Linked DNA regions of Homo sapiens: region 2 is linked to region 1. The links are contacts of gene promoters, found by promoter capture Hi-C in human tissues and cell types (Jung and others, 2019). All regions are on one chromosome and are shown on one strand. Each heading gives the region's core, a stretch centred on a gene start or on the middle of the fragment in contact. The rest is flanking DNA. Distances are from core to core; before and after follow the strand shown.

The links. The method cuts DNA at HindIII sites, captures the fragments that hold promoters and counts their contacts. A contact is called where the count stands out against the background at its distance.
Region 2: a contact is called between a fragment that was not itself captured here and the fragment with the promoter of NKX2-1 in region 1, in 1 of the 25 tissues and cell types used here (dorsolateral prefrontal cortex).

What each region holds. Positions count from the first base shown.
Region 1 is chr14:36,518,801-36,521,500 of GRCh38, forward strand. NKX2-1 (NK2 homeobox 1) reads right to left here and starts at 1,432. Exons shown (of 3, transcript NM_001079668.3): 1 at 1,253-1,432; 2 at 185-570. The coding sequence starts at 1,329. It overlaps SFTA3 (surfactant associated 3), which reads right to left and starts at 756. Exons shown (of 5, transcript NR_161365.1): 1 at 668-756. NKX2-1-AS1 (NKX2-1 antisense RNA 1) reads left to right here and starts at 478. Exons shown (of 2, transcript NR_103710.1): 1 at 478-879. RefSeq lists enhancers at 848-1,847, 1,848-2,700. The HindIII fragment of the contact is 7,239 bases long and covers 1-2,700 here.
Region 2 is chr14:36,056,453-36,059,152 of GRCh38, forward strand. All of the region lies in intron 1 of LOC105370452 (a long non-coding RNA gene), which reads right to left. Among named protein-coding and RNA genes, the nearest start is that of LINC00609, 13 kb to the right of the region's middle. The HindIII fragment of the contact is 4,747 bases long and covers 1-2,700 here.

The DNA.
Region 1 (2,700 bases), core at 182-2,681:
TCTTGGACCCCCAGCCGAGCAGGGGGAAGCATCCCCAGCTCCCGCACCCAAGTCCCTGGCGCCGCTGCCGGGCCGCCCTCCCTGATGCCCAGCGCGCAGCCTGCCGGCGCCGCGCCTTCTGGACGGCTCTCGCCGCACCTCCTGAGCTCAGCCCGCGGCCCCGCAGTGGGGCGGCCTCACTTACTGGCGGGGAAGCGCGGGTCTGGGTTGGCGCCGTACCATCCGGGGCCAGAGGCGCTGTTCCTCATGGTGTCCTGGTACGGCGGCAGCTCGCTCATGTTGCCCAGGTTGCCGTTGCAGTAGCCCCCCACGGCGGAGTGCGAGAGCTGGGGCACCCCCGCCGCCGTCATGTGGTAGGCGGCGGTGACGGCGCCGTGGTGCCCCACGGCGTGCTGCTGCATGGCCGCTGTTGGCGGTGCCGCCTGGCCCTGCCTGTACGCCGCCAGCGGAGCCCCGAGGCCGCCGCCCTCCATGCCCACTTTCTTGTAGCTTTCCTCCAGGGGACTCAAGATGTCAGACACTGAGAACGGAGTCGTGTGCTTTGGACTCATCGACATGATTCGGCGGCGGCTGGAGGAGGAAGGAAGAGGAGGAAAAAAAAGGGAGAGGGGGAAGGCGAAGCCTCGCTGCTTTTTTTTTCTCCCTTTGCCAAATATTCTGGTGTTACCTTAACGCCGATCTTGTTGGATGTACACGTAACGGAGTGGACCGAGTCCTCCTTAATTGGCTTGAGTGGAGGCTCGGGGGCTGCCTCGCGTTTGTTTTAGCCCGGCGCCAGGTTTTAGGCAGCCACCAGAGGCGGGGCGTAAGCGCTAAAGCAACAAGACAATAGAAGCCTACATCTTGCCCGAGATAATTAGCTTACATGCTGATGACAAGGTAAACACCTTTAAGTTTCACTTGTCAGGATTTTTAGGTCTCAAAGAGAGAGAGAGAGAGGCAGAGACGAGACCCAAAGCATTTCCCCCCTCCCTTGGACACCCCCACCCCCATTTTTTGTGGGGTACCAGCGGAGCGCGGGGAGGAGGTGGAGGGGAGGGGAAGGAGGAGGGAACCGAGAGCGGGGAGGGCAGGAGGTGGGGTGGGGGAGTAACAGAGGAGGAGAGATGGTTGAGAGGAAGGAAGGTGAATGCTGCTTTGCAACCAACTTGCGGAGTTACAAAGTGGAACCACTTTCCAATTCGGTCGGGGTTCCCCGGGCACGGACAGGTCTTTAGGAGGAGGGGGCTGAGGGACAGGGTGGGGGTTTCACCTGAGCCTGCCGGGGCTGCTCCTCCCTCCCGCCGCGGCCTCCCAGCCCCGCGCCTTCCCACTGCCTCCGGACCACATCGGGCTTCGCTGCGCTGAGCCCCAGTCGCCAACAAATGAGCGAGCGAGTCTGGGGACGAACCCTGGGGCCGCACTGTTGGTCTACGTGTCTGTCAGTCTGTCTGCCTCTCTTCTGCCGCCGTCAGAGGGACACCTCTGCTCCCCGCCCCCTTTCCCCCTACCGGAGAGAATCCGAGCGGGCGGAGGGGGCGCTGAGTAGGGGATCGACTGCCTCCCGGAGGCTGTCCCGGATCCCCGAGCCACAACCCGCCCCCGCAGCTCAGGGGTTTTTCAGTGGGCCACCCCCGCTAACACGCCTCCCCCAAGGTCTTCCCCCCCCCCCCCCACCCCCGGCCGAGCAAACACAGCACTGGCCCCCAGAGCTGGGAGGATGGGAAGGGGTCTCACGGGAGGGTCCGTCACTGAAGTTGCCCCACCTCGAACAAACCTGGTGTCCCTGACCCTCGCCCATCTCCCAGACACGCGGGGATCTGGGGCTGGAGCTGACTTTCCGAGGACATCACAGCCCCAGCACCCGAGCCCAGAGCCACGCTGTTTTCCCCTCTGATGCTTCAGGGAGCGCGCGAGCAGGGAGCGGCGTGAGTGCCCGTCTGTCTGTTGCCGGGCGGAACTGAGCCTGAACCCCGGCGGCTGGAGCGCTGGCCAGGAGGGGGCGAATGCCGAGGTGCGGGCAGCTCAGCGGGCGGGAGGCTGGGCCGAGGCTCGCCTCCGCCCGCAGCTCAGCCATGCAAAAGTGCTCTTGCTTCCCGGGAATAACCAAATATCTTTGTTTAAAGTGGTGGCGTAAATGGCCAGTCGCTTTGTGGCCACGCTGGATATTAGTAGATGAGGATCATTCTGCTTCAATTGGGCGCCTCTCATCCGACGAGCAAGAAACTGCTTAGGAGGAAGAGGGTTTCCTGTCTGCGCGTTCCCAGGCTTCAAGTGTGGGCCCCGCGCCTTGAGGGTCCTTGGGCGCCTGGCGAGGGGGAGCTGTGGGCTGCGCTCCCCAGCGGAATCGGGGGTGTCCCCCGCGTTGCTCCGGCCAGGCCGGGGCCTGCAGCCGAGTCGACTACCGAGTGGAGCACTGAACGGCGCGGATTTTGAGACCGACTCCGGTTTTTGTCCTTGGATTTTAAACGTTTTTATCATTGTTTTTGTTTTGCTTTCTCCTTAGCTGTTTTAGTCTCCTCTGCGCGCCAGGGGCTGGGAGGGCGGAGCGCTCCCCGGCCGGCCCCGGCAGGTGCCTCCAAGACACCCGCGCTGGTCAAGGAGCTTCTTGAATTTAGTTTTTGTTTTCACATTTTCTTTCCCCTCCTTGTAGAGAAGGAGCTCCTGATCATGACGAACAGGCAGTTTTGAGCTACTTAATTCATCCGGGCTCCCTTTTTT
Region 2 (2,700 bases), core at 201-2,700, 460 kb before region 1:
CTCTAAGGGCAGAACTGAGGACACTGGTAGAAGTTAGTGGGAAGTAGATTTTGGCTTAGAATTTTCTAATAACTAAATTTCAGAATTAAAAGGGTACTGTTTTTTAAAAAGTAGTGAGCCTCCTAACACAGGAAGCATGCAAGTAAAAAACTGCATGTCTATGTCTTAGGGATGTTTTAGAGAGGATCCCTTCCACCACCAAGAGTTTCGTATTATTTCTGTTATTGTGTTAAGTGATGGTCTAATATGATAAAATACAAGTAATCTATTTTGGAAAGGAGACATAGATACAATTATTGAAAAGCACAATAGAGAAAAAGATTGCATCTATATTATTGTTATATAACCATATGCCAATATGTCTAGTACATAGTATTAGAAAATGTGTCAGGGTGTAATAAGTAACTTTTTAGAATGCCCTATGCAGAATGTAGAAGCAAATCTGAATTAAAAATGCAGAAACTGAAGAGGACTGGAGTCATTAGGGAAGGCTTCATGGGCAGCTGGTTCTTTAACAGGGCCTTGGAAAAGGTTAGAATGAGGACAGGCAAAGGGGAAGTCCCTCCAGGGAGGACTGTGCAGGAGTATTAGTGGGAGGAGGTGTTGGGAGGAGGCAGGATGATTGGCCTCACTCAGGGTCTCTGTACGTATGTGCTTTGCACAGCGAAGATGGGAACAATCAATGGTCATTTGAGGAAATGACACACACTTAAATCCCTCTTGTCTGAAATCCTGCAGTATCCTGAGTTCCATTGGCCTGCGGGCTGAGAGACCTGGGAGTCCCAGCTGGGTTCCTAACTAGCTGTTTGGTCAGACACATCACTTAACCACCCTGAGCCTTATTTTTCTCAATTATAAGCCAAGACAGTTGGTTAAATCAGTGCTTCTTAAACTTTAATGTGCAAATGGAGAGATTGTTAAAATGTAGCTCTGATTTCATGGGTCGGGGCAGGGCTTGAGACTCTGCATTGCTAACAGGCTCAAAGGCGATGGCGATGGTAGGGTCAGCAGACCACCCTTTGAGCGGTAAGGGGTTGTATGACTTACGTGCCTCCGTGATATGAGCACTCTACAAACTAGTTTTAATTATGGTCTCATACTTTTTTTTTTTTTCATAGTTGTTTTCTTATTAGGTAATACGATTGAGAAGTATCTAGCACAGAGCTGAGTCCACAGTGGGTACTCAGTAACATTTGTTTATTCACGTCAAGTTTCTCCCTTGGATACTCTGCTTACCTTAGAAATGCAGTCGTTTTTGTTCAGTCCTGCATTTCAAACATGTAGTGCAGGTTCAGCAAATCTAATAAAACTCAAAGAAAAATCTCAGTGCTTTTTAGATCTCTTCTCTTATCTCATGACTCCTGTTTCTTCCAGTAGGAAAGGAAGTAATGTGCTGTCTAAATATCTGATTGTTGTGTTGCTTTAGGGAAAAACAATTAGATTGCCTTGCCATTTGCCAAATAGATGGAATGAAGGTTTCACTCCATTAACACTCATTCCATGAGTCATTCTAAATTCTTGACAGTATGCCAATAAACCCCAGTTAATTCACCAAAATTGCCGCTGGTAGCATTTTGCCTCTGCAGGTAACCAGCAGCACTGTAATCACTTACTCCACAAAGATAATGAGGTTGTATGGTTTTTATTTATGCTACCAATTTGTTTTAATATTGTTATTGTTCCTTTTATAGTAAGGCAGATTGGTCTCTGTCTTAAAGGACTGAGAAAGAAGGGATATTAAGGTTCCCAAACTGAATGTAAGTATTAATATTGAAAATAGTATTATTGTTTTTTGGACTGACAGTAGTAATTTAGAAGTGTTCTCAAGAGGTTGTATTGATTGAATATATACTTATTTGATTCTTCAAGATTTTTACCAGACTCCAGTTGGCTTCTAACAAAAGGTTTATACAGATAATGAGATTCCTTCCAGTTCTAAAACACTATAACCTCATGAAATATGACCAAGAGTAATGTACACACAGGACAATTTACACTTGGAAAATGAAGTCGAGCAAGTTGTTCCTGAGGTTTTTTGCTTGCCAACTAATGTAAGACAATATCATTGAAAAGAAAGAAGAGAAAATACAGATACAAGCATTTGTCCTTCAGGGTAATCTAATAACTCAGTAATAAGAATCTGTCACACAAATTTGGTATGAAATCTCTGCAAATTAGAGAAATCCATTACAACAATCAATCTAATAGAATATCAACATACCTCTGAATTTGTTTTGTAAAGAAATATGCTGTCTGTACCCAAGCCATATTTAAGGGTTATTCCATAGTTTATTTTGGTTGAGAAAAACTAATTTGAGTCACTAGACTTTAGATAAGTGTCAGAAGTCCATATTTAACTCGTTTAGGCAAAAGGGATATTTAATGGAAGGATCTTGGGGTAGCCGACATGACTGAAAGAAGAGTAGGATGACCAAGTCACCAGCCGGGCAGGAAGGAATGCAGTGGGGCCTCAGGAACCCTCAAACCAGGAACCAGCTTGTCAGGACTTTGTCTCTCTTTTTGGTTTTTACTTCTCTTGGTGCCGGCTCTATTTTCTCCCACTGCAGACCAGCTTTCTCCACTTGGCAGTTAATGGGGCTGTTGACACCTTGCATGGGAGTTCTTTTACAACTTCTTCTATCAGAGAGACAGACTGACTCTCCCAGATTAATTTTTTTAAAAGGCTAGGGGAGAACTCTG